Regions from separate parts of the Homo sapiens genome. Here all the other regions are linked to region 2. The links are contacts of gene promoters, found by promoter capture Hi-C in blood cells and fetal thymus (Javierre and others, 2016). All regions are on one chromosome and are shown on one strand. The core of a region is centred on a gene start or on the middle of the fragment in contact, and the rest is flanking DNA. Distances in the headings are between cores, read along the strand shown. Region 1 holds the start of PIK3C2A (phosphatidylinositol-4-phosphate 3-kinase catalytic subunit type 2 alpha). Region 2 holds the start of MYOD1 (myogenic differentiation 1). Region 3 overlaps SERGEF (secretion regulating guanine nucleotide exchange factor).

Evidence for each region. The method cuts DNA at HindIII sites, captures the fragments that hold promoters and counts their contacts. A CHiCAGO score of 5 or more calls a contact.
Region 1: the fragment with the promoter of PIK3C2A here is called in contact with the fragment with the promoter of MYOD1 in region 2 in 3 of 17 cell types (M0 macrophages, M2 macrophages and M1 macrophages); the score reaches 12.2 in M0 macrophages.
Region 3: a fragment that was not itself captured here is called in contact with the fragment with the promoter of MYOD1 in region 2 in 3 of 17 cell types (M2 macrophages, endothelial precursors and megakaryocytes); the score reaches 6.6 in M2 macrophages.

Annotation. Positions count from the first base shown.
Region 1 is chr11:17,206,695-17,211,116 of GRCh38, reverse strand. It overlaps PIK3C2A (phosphatidylinositol-4-phosphate 3-kinase catalytic subunit type 2 alpha), which reads left to right and starts at 3,131. Exons shown (of 33, transcript NM_002645.4): 1 at 3,131-3,269. RefSeq lists silencers at 2,983-3,062, 3,413-3,672 and enhancers at 3,203-3,312, 2,818-3,340, 3,341-3,864. The HindIII fragment of the contact is 7,601 bases long and covers 1-3,170 here.
Region 2 is chr11:17,716,735-17,720,994 of GRCh38, reverse strand. MYOD1 (myogenic differentiation 1) reads right to left here and starts at 1,424. Exons shown (of 3, transcript NM_002478.5): 1 at 583-1,424; 2 at 15-93. The coding sequence starts at 1,212. RefSeq lists an enhancer at 1-475. The HindIII fragment of the contact is 6,670 bases long and covers 1-1,942 here.
Region 3 is chr11:17,998,621-18,002,797 of GRCh38, reverse strand. It overlaps SERGEF (secretion regulating guanine nucleotide exchange factor), which reads left to right. Exons shown (of 11, transcript NM_012139.4): 5 at 2,241-2,301. Among named protein-coding and RNA genes, the nearest start is that of SERGEF, 12 kb to the left of the region's middle. The HindIII fragment of the contact is 3,312 bases long and covers 1-2,952 here.

The DNA.
Region 1 (4,422 bases), core at 1,882-4,381, 510 kb after region 2:
GTGTGGTGGTGTGCACCTGTAATCCCAGCTACTCTGGAGGTTTGAACCCAGGAGATGGAGGTTGTAGTGAGCAGAGATTGCGCCACTGCACTCTAGCCTAGGCAACAGAGTGAGAGTCTGTCTCAAAAAAACATAAATAAATAAATAAATAGGTAGGTAGTTTGGTATAGTACCCAGCAGAGTCCTTCTACTCAGGTGGGGATATAACATTGAGAAAGGAAATAAAAACCTAACTATTATACTTCTTAACAGCATTTCGTAGATGTTAAAATCTTGGCCCGCTGGCGGAACTGTGAGGTTAAAAAAGCATGGGTTGTGCAGTCAGACCCAGTTTTGGATCCCAGCTCTGCTCTTTAGTAGCTGTGTGACATTGGGCAAGTTACTCTCCTCTCTGTTCCTCAAATTTCTCAGCTATAAAATTAGGATATAATAATTATATCTTTCAGGAAGGTTGTTGGAGGAAGTCAATGAGATAATACTCATAAAACACTAAGAACAGGGCTTGGCCTTAGCAAATGCTAATCATTGTTATCCACTATATTTTATCTGTGGTTAAAAAAAAAAGATTGCCCATTTCTCATGTGGTACTGGAAGAAGCTGGGGAATATTTGTGGTACTGGGAAGTTGTCTGTGGGAAGTTAGGATTGAAACAGTGAAAAATGTAAGGCCTCTGCCTGTAATCCCAGCACTTTGGGAGGCCTAGGCAGGCAGATCACTTGAGGTCGGGAGTTCGAGACCAGCCTGACCAACACGGAGAAACTCTGTCTCTACTAAAAATACAAAAATTAGCTGGGTGTGGTGGCACATGACTGTAATCCCAGCTACTCAGGAGGCTGAGGCAGAAGAATCCCTTGAACCAAGAGAGGCGGAGGTTGTGGTGAGCCGAGAGCACACCATTGCACTCCAGCCTGGGCAACAAGTATGAGACTCTGTCTCAAAAAAAAAAAAAAAAAAAGTGAAGCCAGTGGAAGAAAGGAAACAGGAGAAATGGTTGCCAGCTATGTTCTAGTTGGTTCCAAATGACAGCAGCACCAGTTTGTACTGTCTCCCAGAAGTCTGTGTTCCTACTGTTTACACATGCATCTTCACAAGCCATTGCTGACAGATGAGATATGCTGAGAGAGGGTTACCTGTTCAGATTCTTGACACCTGGCAACTTGTGAAAGCTAATTTTTTTGGAATCTGGAAAACTATCAAACTCCTTTTCTTTCTCTTCACCTTATTGGGAACCTTTTGGTTGATCAGAGCCTACCATGTATCAGTCATTCAAAAGCTATAATAAAATAATGAATTCAGAACTGCAACAAGGAAGTGACTCAAGGACCAGGGCCCTCTGCTGCTGAGACTCAGGGGAAATACGTTTCATTAAAAAAAAAAATTAGAAGAAAAAATCCAGTCTGTCTCGCTGGATCAAAAAAAAAGAAAGGAAGAAAGAGAGAGAGGGAGAGAGGAATAAAGAAAGAGAAAGAAAAAGAAAGAAAGAAAAAGAAAGAAAGAAAGAAAGAAAGAAAGAAAGAAAGAAAACAAAAGAAAAAAAAAAGACAGACAAATAGTTACTCTTTCCTGAAGACTCAGTGTTCTCCCAAGGCCTCTTCCTTCTTTCCTGAAGGCACACTCAGATCTGGAGCAGAAGCTAGGAAGCTACCCTGAGATAAATCACTTTCCCCACCCTTTTTAATCTTGTGAAAGAGCTGCTGCCAATTTTAGAAATTCCTCCTTTGATCAGAAGATAAAGCAGAACAATGCTGCGGAACTAAGTTGATTTCTAAGGGACATTCTTCTAGAGTGTGTAGCCTGCCTGGAAGTGTGTGTGCATAGAGGAGGGGCGGGGTTGGGGGAAAGATAGGAGTTGGAAGGGGGGGGGGTGTACAACAGCCAGTAGCTACAGCCGTAAGAAATAATCACATTTGTTTCTAGAATTCCCCATAGAATAGAAACTCCATCCAATTTTACCATCCCTGCGGAGGTGCAGGCATGTTTATTACAGCGCTATGAGGGATTCATCCACTCCACATTCCCCATTGCCCTAGCCCCCTTTCGCCAACCCCCGTCCCTGCCAAATCAGGCCAATTTCTTTCTTTCCAGTTATTTGCTGAAAGTTCAACTTCTCTTAGAGCCTTCTAATTATGCGTATATCATATAGGCTGATAATTTTTAGTTTAGGCTGAGAAATGCAGCCTAAATCAGTCTGCCACATCAGATTGTGAACGTCTGGATGGTGTGGACCCCCTTCTCCTACTGCTTAAAAGACAATCTTGTTGTAAAACGCTATGGAATCGTTCCTCTCCCCTTAACATCTTTGTGCCCCAGAAGCCCCATCTGTAAATGGGGATAATTTTCCTATATCTTCCCATGGTTACGTAATTTTTAGATCTAACACGTGAGGACCAAACGCTTTACAAGCATAATCTCATTAAATTCTCAATAAGAATATATTATTATGGAGGTTGCATGTGAAAATACTTTGTAATGTAGAAAGAGCCGTCTGGCTGTGAGTTATTATCAGGGGGTTATCTTCCTTACCTGGCTGTTGTGAGGATGAAACGAGACGCCGACCTGAAAGCGTTTTACGTGCTATCAAGCATTTTACAGAAACCACGTGATAGGCTACTAATTACCCACCGTATACCACCTGACCCACCGTGAGGCCTCGGTAAATACTGGTTGGAGTGGACGAGTTTAAGTCTTGCCTGTTCCTTTCAGTCTTCCAATCACAAAGTAATCTCGGCGCCGCCAGGGGCCAAGACACAAATCTGGGAACCTCAGCCTAGATGGAGGAGGGTGCGGGGTCCCGGGAGAGGGGATGAGAACAATAGGGTACTTCAGTGCCCGGGCCCTGTTTAGCGGGTCTTCGGACTCAGGGCCCGAGGGGCGGCCAGCTGGGGTGTCCGGAGAGCTCCCCTCCCCAGGTCTGGGGTGTGCACGGAGAGGCGTCCAGAGCCTGCTCAGCATTCCTCGGGAGAGAGCCAGACCCTGGTCCCCCGGGCCCGTGCGCCCCAGCGCCCCAGCTCCCTTGCTCACGCCACCCCGGCAGCGTCCAAGCCCCGCCCGCCAGCTCAGGTAGGCCGTCCGCGCCAGCCAATTCGCAACAAGTCCGGGCGGGGAAGGCGGTGCTTCCCTGTCCGGAAGTGACGTGCTGCGCTTGGCTGGCTGTGGAGTCGGCCGAAGCTTTCGGCGGCGGCTGAGCCAGCTGAGGGGAAAAATGGCTCGGACTGTGGCGGCTTCGGCGGCTCAGGTTGTGGTAGAGGCGGAGGCTCAGGCAGCTTGAGGTGAGGAGCGGTCGGTGCGGCTGGGGACGATATTCGGGGTCCTGCTCTGCAAGGGTGGAGAGGGGCCCCGGGGTTCCCGGGCTGGAAGGGTCTCTTGTCGCGGCCCCCAGTGCCTTGGGTGCCCGCGTCTGACCCTCCATCCCGTGCTCTTGGCGTTGCCCAGCCCGACTCCCCCCTCCCTCCGGGCCTTGCTTCCACCCAGGCCGTGAGCAAGTGCTGCGCTGGAGGTGCGAGGAGCCCGCGTCCCCACCAGGCCCCTCTTCTCGGGAGCGGAGGTGCGCCAGGGAGTTAGTTTTGTCCCACAGAAGGAGGGCAGGCCCCCCGGCCGCCGGCCCCCCTCCCCCGCCTTGTCCCGCGGGACCGGGCTGGAGCCGCAGTGGCCGGTCCTATTTTCTTGGCAGATTGTTAGTTCTGGCGAGTGTGTGTGTTGTACTTCTCAGTGACGGCCCCTTCTTTCACCTCCTGTCCCATCTCTGGCTCTGGGGGCCAAGGATACTTTTTCTTCTTCCCGGACCCCCCACTCCCACCGCGTTGCCTTTAGCCGCGAATCCACTTGCTTTGGGAACACTATTCTTTCAGTGTGTATTTAGCGCATCATCCTTCTGAGAGAGCGGTCAGATTAAAAAATACTAGCTTAACTCTTCCTGAGTGACGGAGGAATCATAAATAATTGAAGAAAAAGGCACATACTTATTTTCCTCACTGAATTTCTGGCTTTAAAAACGACATTCTCTAGCTGTGGAATTATTTTTTGGGGGAGGAGGGATTGAGGAGGGAAATGAGGAAGGAGAAACTAAGGAAAAAAGTCTGGACATAACGTGGAAGAGAGAGCCTGTTGTAGTTCTTTTCCTATACTGGCCCGATAGAAATTGAGGTTATAATTATATTCTTATTTTGAACAGTGGGGGTTTGAATTAAGTGAAACGAAGGAGGCCTGCCTCTTTGAACAAGATTAGTTATTAAAGAATGTCCTGAAATCTTTCCTGGTGGGTTTCAGGCAGAAAAGCTCTGTTGGGAAAATTTTTAAATCTATTGTAGCATCAAAGGCCACAGCATATAAGAGATGCAAGAAGAAGAAAGCTGTTTGTAGGGGAACGGTGAAGACATAGTAGAAAGAGGGAAGGCTGCACAGAAGTCCAGGAACTAATTCCAG
Region 2 (4,260 bases), core at 175-2,674:
CCCGGAATACCCACCGCTGGGCGCCTCGTTGTAGTAGGCGCCTTCGTAGCAGTTCCGCCGCCGGGCGCCGCTCGGGGGGCCGCTGTAGTCCATCTGCAAACAGCAAGGGCGACTGAGTCAGGCCCGCGGGACGGCTCGAGGCCCGAACACCAATTCCTGTAGCCGCCCCCTCCCTAACTCTAGCCTAAGGCTCTAGTTCCGGGCCCAGACCTGTCCTGGTTGGGGGGGTAATTACGGGTGGGTAGGAGATGAGGTCTGCAACATGCAGGGCCAAACCAAGGGCGGACAGTCACCAAGGGGCGCAAATTTACATTTTGGAAGTAGGGATAAGTAGAGAAAAAGATCTTCACGTTCGCGCTGCAGTGTTCTAATAGCGCCCCCAATGGGGCAGCTCGAACGCTTGCCCGCACACTTCCAAAACAGGCTACCCCAGTGACAGCTGCCCAGGACAAGGGGGTCCTCTCTCTCGGGAAGGATCCTGGCCCAAACCTCCCGCAAGGCCAGCTCCCCGCCCTCGGAAACGCGTCCCTGATATCCCGAGCGCCGCCCTAACTTCCTCACTTCCTGGGGTCCCGGCCTTACCATGCCGTCGGAGCAGTTGGAGCGCGGGCTGGACGCGTCGGAGTCGCCGCTGTAGTGCTCGCCGCCGCGGCCCGGGGGCAGCGGGCCCGGCGCATAGAAGGCGGCTGCGGCGCCAGGGGGCGCGGCGTCCTGGTCGCGCAGCAGAGCCTGCAGGCCCTCGATATAGCGGATGGCGTTGCGCAGGATCTCCACCTTGGGCAACCGCTGGTTTGGATTGCTCGACGTGCAGCGCTTGAGTGTCTCAAAGGCCTCATTTACTTTGCTCAGGCGGCGCCGCTCGCGCATGGTGGCGGCCTTGCGGCGGTCGGCGTTGGTGGTCTTGCGCTTGCACGCCTTGCAGGCCCACAGTAGGCAGCGGCCCGCCTGGTGGTGCCCGCTGGGCGCGCGCACATGCTCGTCCTCACGTGCGCCCGGGGCCGGGTGCACCGCCGCGGGGAAGTGCGAGTGCTCTTCGGGTTTCAGGAGCGCGCCCACGTGCATCAGGCGCGGGTCCAGGTCTTCGAAGAAGCGCAGGTCCGGGGAGTCGAAACACGGGTCGTCATAGAAGTCGTCCGTTGTGGCAAAGGAGCAGAGAGAGCCGTCGGGGGCCGTCAGGTCTACGTCGCGGAGCGGTGGCGACAGTAGCTCCATATCCTGGCGGTGGCGCGGCACGGTCCTGGCTTCGCCCAACCCAAGCGGCAGAGAGTGGCCGGAACTTTCTGCCGCTCGGGAGCCCCGGCTGTAGATAGCAAAGTGCTGGCAGTCTGAATGCCCACCCACTGTCCCCCACCCCTCCCTCTCCTGTCCGGCCTGATTTGTGGTTAAGGAAAGCGGCGGCAGCGCCCCAGGGCTTCCTCACCCCTAGCTTCTCGCCAGGCGCCCTGGGCTATTTATCCGTAGTAGCCTAAACGCCCCGGAGCCCAGGCGGGCAGCTGGGGGAGGGGGAGTCCGAGGCCAATAGGAACACTGCGGGGCGGGGCTTGGGGGGGTCCCCGGGGTGGCCGCAGGGGCCCGCAGACTGGCCAGCCAGCCCGCCCCTCCACACTGGCGTGCGCGCTAGGTCCCCTACCGGGCAGGGAGGGAGGGAGCGACCGGCAGCCCTAGGCGGCTGCACTTGGCTCTCCGGCACGCCCTTTCCAAACCTCTCCAACACCCGACTGCTGTATCCGCGGGAAACGCTGGCTGCGCGCGCTCACCTCTGAGCTGACTTTCAATACTCCTCTGTCCCCTGATTTGTGGGGGACCCATGGGTAGAGCGGCTGTAGAAATCAGGTCGTGAGAGATTTGGAGAGAGGCAAGGCATTGGGGGCACAGAGCTGAGGAGTGAGACCGTGAAAGAGGGACCGAAAGAGGCTGAGAGACACGCAGAAAGCAGAAAGCTTAGAGCGTCAGGGGCAGAGAAACGCACGAGTGCAACAACAGGCGGAGAGACCCCGAGAGTTGAAGTGGGCGAGCCCGAGACAAACGGGTCGTAGAGGCTCTGATATTCCGCCAGTCCCCGACCTGGGAGTTGCTCAGCAGGTCGTGGGCCCAGTCCTTCTTCCCTAGACGCTTAGAAACCCAGCTATGGTTGTACAGGAATCGGAGATTGCTGCTAAAGCTTCGCGCCAATCTCTCCAAACTCGGATCCTGCCCAGGTTAGGAATCCCCTCCATCTAAATCTGCACGTTTCCACAGCAGGGGTGTCCAGTGCCATGCCTGGGGTCTAGGCTGAGCTGCCTCTTCAGCTGGGAAGAAAACCCTTCTGCTCGGGGCTTGGCTCCGCCTCACTCGCGGTGCTGAGTCAAGGAAAGTGCATTTCGCCAAGGTGTCAAACTTCAGGACCTGGCCTGAGAACCTGACCTCATCTCACCTGAAGTCTCCGAGAGTGCGGTTTGCAGACCAGTTGAGTGCAGACTCCAGAGTTTCCCAACTGTGTGATTTTGTGGAAGTCATGTCTCCTTCCTGAGCCTCAGTTTCCAGTTATAGATTTGGGGATGACAGTAATTTCTTGGAGTAATTGTGGTGGGGATGACAGTCTGAAGAGACCAAGGATATGGAAGCCCTCAGGCGGTGATGTAGGGTTATTCGAGCAAGGGGCTTTCAGAGTTGGATGCTGTGTCCCGCAGGCTTACAACTCATCTGTGGTACCATGCCCTGACGGAGTGCCACGAGTCTCCAGGCCTTAGCTGTGTCTCTTTCCTGCAGCCTCACTGGAAAGGCTGGAAACAGGAGGAGGCAACCACCCCATGGGATGTGGGATATCTGGCTCCCATACAAGCCTCAGCATACCGGCCACCCCCATGGGGGTCTCTCAGCCTCTTCCTGAATCTGCAGTTCACACAGTCCTCTCAGCACTCTGGCTAGGAATCTCCGTTGGCCATACATCCCTGCCTGGATCTCCCCTCCTGGAAACCAGAAATTTAAGCAGGAGTGATCTTTGTGCCTTTCCCACTAACTTCTGGAAGGCATTCTAGCTGGCCGTTCTGGGCCCTAAGAAGTCCTCCCTTCCCACAAAACTCAGAGGGCTCTGTTGGGGTCCTAACTTCTTCACTTCTCTGCTGCTGGTAGTGGTGCTGAAGGTCTCCCTTCATGAAGTACTCACCTCGCTTTACTCCATAGGGCCCACCTGTATTTGTTCATTCAGTAAAGTCTACATCATGGAGCAGCAGTGACAGTAACTCTAAATCCTGGCAGAGGCAGCAAAGTCCTGGCCTCACCCCACCCAAGCTGCAGGGGGTCACCCGGAAATCCACATATTGTTAGGTATCCATTATGTGGCAGGTACCAGTCCAAGTGTGGGGCTAGAGCAATGAACAAAACCAAGACTCTGCTTACATGGCACTTACATTGTCAATGTAAGCAGGGTGATAGACAATGAACAAATAAGCAAGGAAGTATGTGATGCCAGGAGGTTAGAAGCCTTATGAAGAAAAAGCAAGGCAGGGAGACACAGTGATGAAGATTATGGAGTGATTAGAGAAGGCCTCTCTGCTACATTTAAGCAGAGACCTGAATGAAGAGAATTGGAAGCAGATACCTGGAGATATGTAGGGCCAGATAGAGGGATAAGCATGTGCAAAAGTCCTGAGGCAGGACCATGTTTGGCAGATTCAAAGTATGGCAAGGAGGCTCATATGTCTGCAGCAGGGTGAGTAAAAGAGATAGTGGGAAATGGGGTGAGAGAGAGAGAAACAGGATTATATTCTGAGATGGCTTGAGCCATCTCACTGGAGGGCTTGAGCGGAAGAGAAGAATATCACTATCTGATTTACATTTTAACAGGAGCATGCTGGTTACTGGAGGGAAAGGGCAGAAGGAGGGAGACCAATTAGGAGGCTATTGCAATAATCCCAGTGAGTGGAGCTGGTGAAAAGTGGTGGTTGAATTCTAGATATATGTTTTCAAGATGGAGCTAGCAGTATTTACTCACGATTGCATGTGGGAAGTGAGATAAGCAAGGAGCTAAGGATGACTCCTGCAAGAATGGAGTTGAGAAGACTAGGTTTGTGGGTGGTAGATTAAGTGTCCAGGTTTGGGCAAAATTTGAAATGCATATCGGATATCCAGATGGAAGTGTGGATTAGGCAGGGGGATTTTTAAGGCTGGAGTTCCCAAGGAGAGGTCTGAGTATGAGGAAGAGCTGTCCATTCTACCTCTAAGACCTGTCTCAAGTCAGTCCATCCCTAGTGTCACCATCCTGGACTAAGCTGTCACACT
Region 3 (4,177 bases), core at 47-2,546, 280 kb before region 2:
GTACTATGTTTAGGCAGTGGGAGCAAAGTTGAATAAGACCTGTCCTAGCAGTTGAGAGTTTTATAGTTTGGTAGGACATGATAGGCACATAAATACTTAAATGTAATACCATGTCAGAACTATGACAGATGCATGTATATCCCCAAAGGAGGGAGTTTTGAGCATCTGGGGGAAGGTGGGGTGAGAAGAGGCTTAAGCTAGGTCTCAAAAGTTAAATAGAGGTTTACCCGTCTTGGGATAGGAGGATGCTCAGAGTGGGTGCAAAAGAAGAACATTCTAGGCAGAAGGAACCATGTAAGCAAAGGTGCAACGGAATGAAACAGGAGAGTTTGGGATATCGTAAGTAGTTTAGTATGGTTGGAATATAAGGAAGAGGTGGAAGTTCCAGGGTAGAGTGGGTGGGAATGGGGCAATCAGGGTGGTTGTATGTGACACATGGTAAGAACAACATGGTAGGGAGGTCAGATAGGAAGATGGATTGAAGGAAGGTTACTGAGGAAACTCTTGCTAACAATCCAAATGAAACAATTGTGGCTCAAACTAAAGCAGCAACAGTTGGGATGGAGAGTAAGAGGTGGAGGTGAGTGGTGTTAAAGAGACTGAAGTCACATGTAAAGCCCTTCAGTTAGTTTTTTGGGGAAAAACAAAAGAAAAATATAAAGGACAATATGTTCAAATTGTATTAACGCTAAGATTTGATCTTCTCGTAAGCTAATGTGATTGTGGACTCCATTGACAGAAGTATAGTTTCCAGAAGAAGGAAGGCCAAAGCTCAGCCCTTTCTGCTGTTCAGCCTGCATCTGGGATGTTGTGTTTTGTTGTGGATTTGGTGCTTAGGCCCTGGGCATAAAGGTATATAAGACTCAGGTCCTGCCCTTGAGGGTCCTAAAGTTTAGAAAGACACTGTGGACCTGTAAATAAACAAATGTGGTAAGCCTTAATGGGGTTATGATTATGCTATAGAGTTCCTTTAAAAGAGAAAGATTGAACAACTAGAGCATATTTAGAGAAGTGAAGACCAGGAGGGGAAGGGAATTTGAAATCCAGTGATGGCTGATGAATGGGGGATATTTGCTTTGAAGAAAAGATCTTCATTAGTTATCTATTGCTGTGTAACAAATTACTGCAAACCTTAGCAGCTTAAAACAGCAAACATTTATTATGTCACAGTTTCGGAGAGTCAGGAATTTAGGAACAGCTTAGCTGGTCTCTCATGAAGTTACAGTTGAGATGTTAGCTGGGTCTGCTTGCAATCTCCGTGGACCTGTAAATAAACAAATGTGGTAAAGCCCTAATGGTTTCATGTTCCTTGCCATGTGGACCTTTCTATTGGACTTTTCAGACATAGCATCTGGTTTCCCCCAGGAGTGATGAGAGAGAGAGGGAGAGATGCTAAGCAGGAAGCCTTAGTGCCTTTTTTCGCCTAGACTCTGAGTCACTCATTGCTGCTTTATTCTCTTTATTAAAAGCATGTCACTAAGTCCAGCCCACACAAGGGGAGGGGTATTAAGCTCCACATCTTGAAGGGAGGAGTAGCAAGAATTTGAGGACCTATTTTTAAAACCACTACAAGATGTCTTAGAGAGGACATGACAACTGTCTTCAAATATTTGGAAAGCATTGTCAGAAGCTGCAGGCAGATAGGTTTGGTTCCACCTAAAGAGATAAATGGAACTGTGCAAAAATGGAACAGGCACCTGGGGAAATGGCGATCCCTATGTCACTGGGGGTAGGTGTTTGGCAGGAGTTGGATGACCACTTGGTGGGGTGTTGTTGGATGGAGATTGGACTAGATCATGTTGGGAAACTTTGAGCCCTTGGTAAATAAAGTCTTACTGGCACACAGTCATGCTCATTCATTTATGTATAGTCTAGAGCTGCTTTTATGTTACAATGGCACAGCTGAGTAGTGTGACAGAAACTGTGGCCTGTAAAACATTTACTAACTGTCCCTTTACAGAAAACATTTACTAACTCTTGGACTAGATGACCTTAGAAGTGCCTCCCAGCCCTGAGAGTTGTTGTCATATGGTATTGTGATATGGTATTTTAAAAGATATATTTTTTTCTTTTAGGGATAAATGTAGAGGTATTAATGGGTGGAAATATTGGGGGGAGTGGTTGCTTTAAACCAGTCAGACCCATAATGAGGACCGTACTGCATTGTATTTGGTATAAATTACATAAAATTTTGTAGATGGATGGTTCTGAGATCTAAATCCTTTTCTTTATTTTGACAGCTCCATAAAGAGAAGGTTGTTTGTATTGCTGCTGGACTGAGGCATGCAGTAGCTGCTACAGGTGATCATCTTATCTTTATTTTTTTATTTTTATTTTTAATACTTTTTAGAGATGGGGTCTCACTCTGTTGCCCAGGCTGGAGTGCAGTGGCTCGATCATAGCTTGCTGTAGCCTTGAACTCCTGAGCCCAAGCTGTCTAACTGCCTCAGCCTCCTGAGTAGCTAGAACTATAGGTGCATGCCACCATGCCCTGCTAATTTTTAAGATTTTTTGTAGAGACAGGGTCTCGCTATGTTGCCCAGGCTGGTCTTGAATTTCTGGCCTCAAGCAATCCTCCCGCCTTGGCCTTCCAAAGTACTGGGATTACAAGTGTGAGCCACTGTGCCCAGCCTGCCCTCCGCCTTTTAAAATAGGTCTGTAATAAGAGGAAACTTAACTTTAGGAGAAAAACCATTTAGGAAATATTTCAAAGGGTCCTGCTGCATTGTGGTTCTGATGAAAAGGAGAGAACATAAGGCAGAAGTCATGTAGGAAAGACATTAGCAGGTAGAGAGGAAGGAAATGAAGTTTTCTAGCTCTTTGTGTTCTAGGTATGATGCTAGGTGCTATTTATTTGATTACTTTATTTAATCCTCACAACCAGGAAGTGATGCGAGTTACATTTTACATGTGAAGAAACTGAGGCACAGAGTTAAAGTGCTTGTGTAAGCTTATACAGGGAGTAACGTAGAGCTTGGATCAGAGCCTGGGATGGTTTGGATCCTAAGGCTCATATTTTTTGCAGGGAACTGCACAGCCTTCCTAATGGATTTTATTGTTTATTAATTTAAAAGCTTTAAGTGAGCTTGTCTCCTGTACTGTGAGTGGGTGATGGGACTGACAGTCTGTGTGTGAGGGGGACAGGGAGGTGGCGTGTGGGAGAATGGTGACCCTTTTATCTCTCCCCTTTTCATTTTTTCTGCTCTTACTCCTTTTGAACTGAAGGACAGCACTAATTGGCTGTGGCAGCTGAGGCTCAGGTGCTTCGTGAGTCCACTTGTGGAGTGGAGGAAGGAGAGAGGAGGTGAGGAAGAGCTCAATGCAGGACTGTGCTGATAGTCCTGGGCTTAGCATTGATTATACTTCAAAAAAAATTCAACTTTTTATTTTGAGATAATTGCAGATGCACATGCAGCTGCAAAAATAAAACAGACCCTGTGTGTTCTCTCCCGGTTTCCCCTAATGGTATCTTGCAAAACTATAGTACAATAACATAATGAGGATATTAACATTGATACAGTCAAGATATAGAACAGTTCCATTACCACAGGAATCCTTCCTGTTGCCTTTCTATAGCCACACCCATTTCTACCTGCCTATAACCACTTCTTAGCCCTAGGCTAAGCACTCTTCTGTTCTCCATCTCTATGATGTTGTCATTTCAAAAATGTTCTATAAATGGTATCATACAGTATATAACCTTTTGAGGTTGGCTTTTTTCATTCAACATAATTCCGTAGACATTCATCCAAGTTGTGTATATCAGTAATTCATTCCTTTTCATTGCTGAGTAGTATTTGATGGTATGGATGTACCACAGTACTAATCTGTTAGGGCTGCCGTAACAAAATACCACAAACTAGGAGGCTGAAAGAACAGACATTTATTTTCTCACCATTCTGGAGGCTAAAAGTATTAAGATTATTGTGTTGTCAGGATTGGTTTCTCGTGAGTTTTTTTTTTTTTCCTGGCCTGTAGGTGACCACCTTCTTGCTCGGTTCTTGCATGGCCTTTTTTGGGTGTGCCTGTGGAGAGGGAGAGATTTCTGATGTCTCTTCCTTTTTATAAGGACACCAGTCCTATTAGATTAAGACCCTACACATATGACCCCCTTTAACTTTTATTGCATTCCATAGCCCCTATCTGCAAATCTAGTTACAGTGGGCATTAGGGTTTC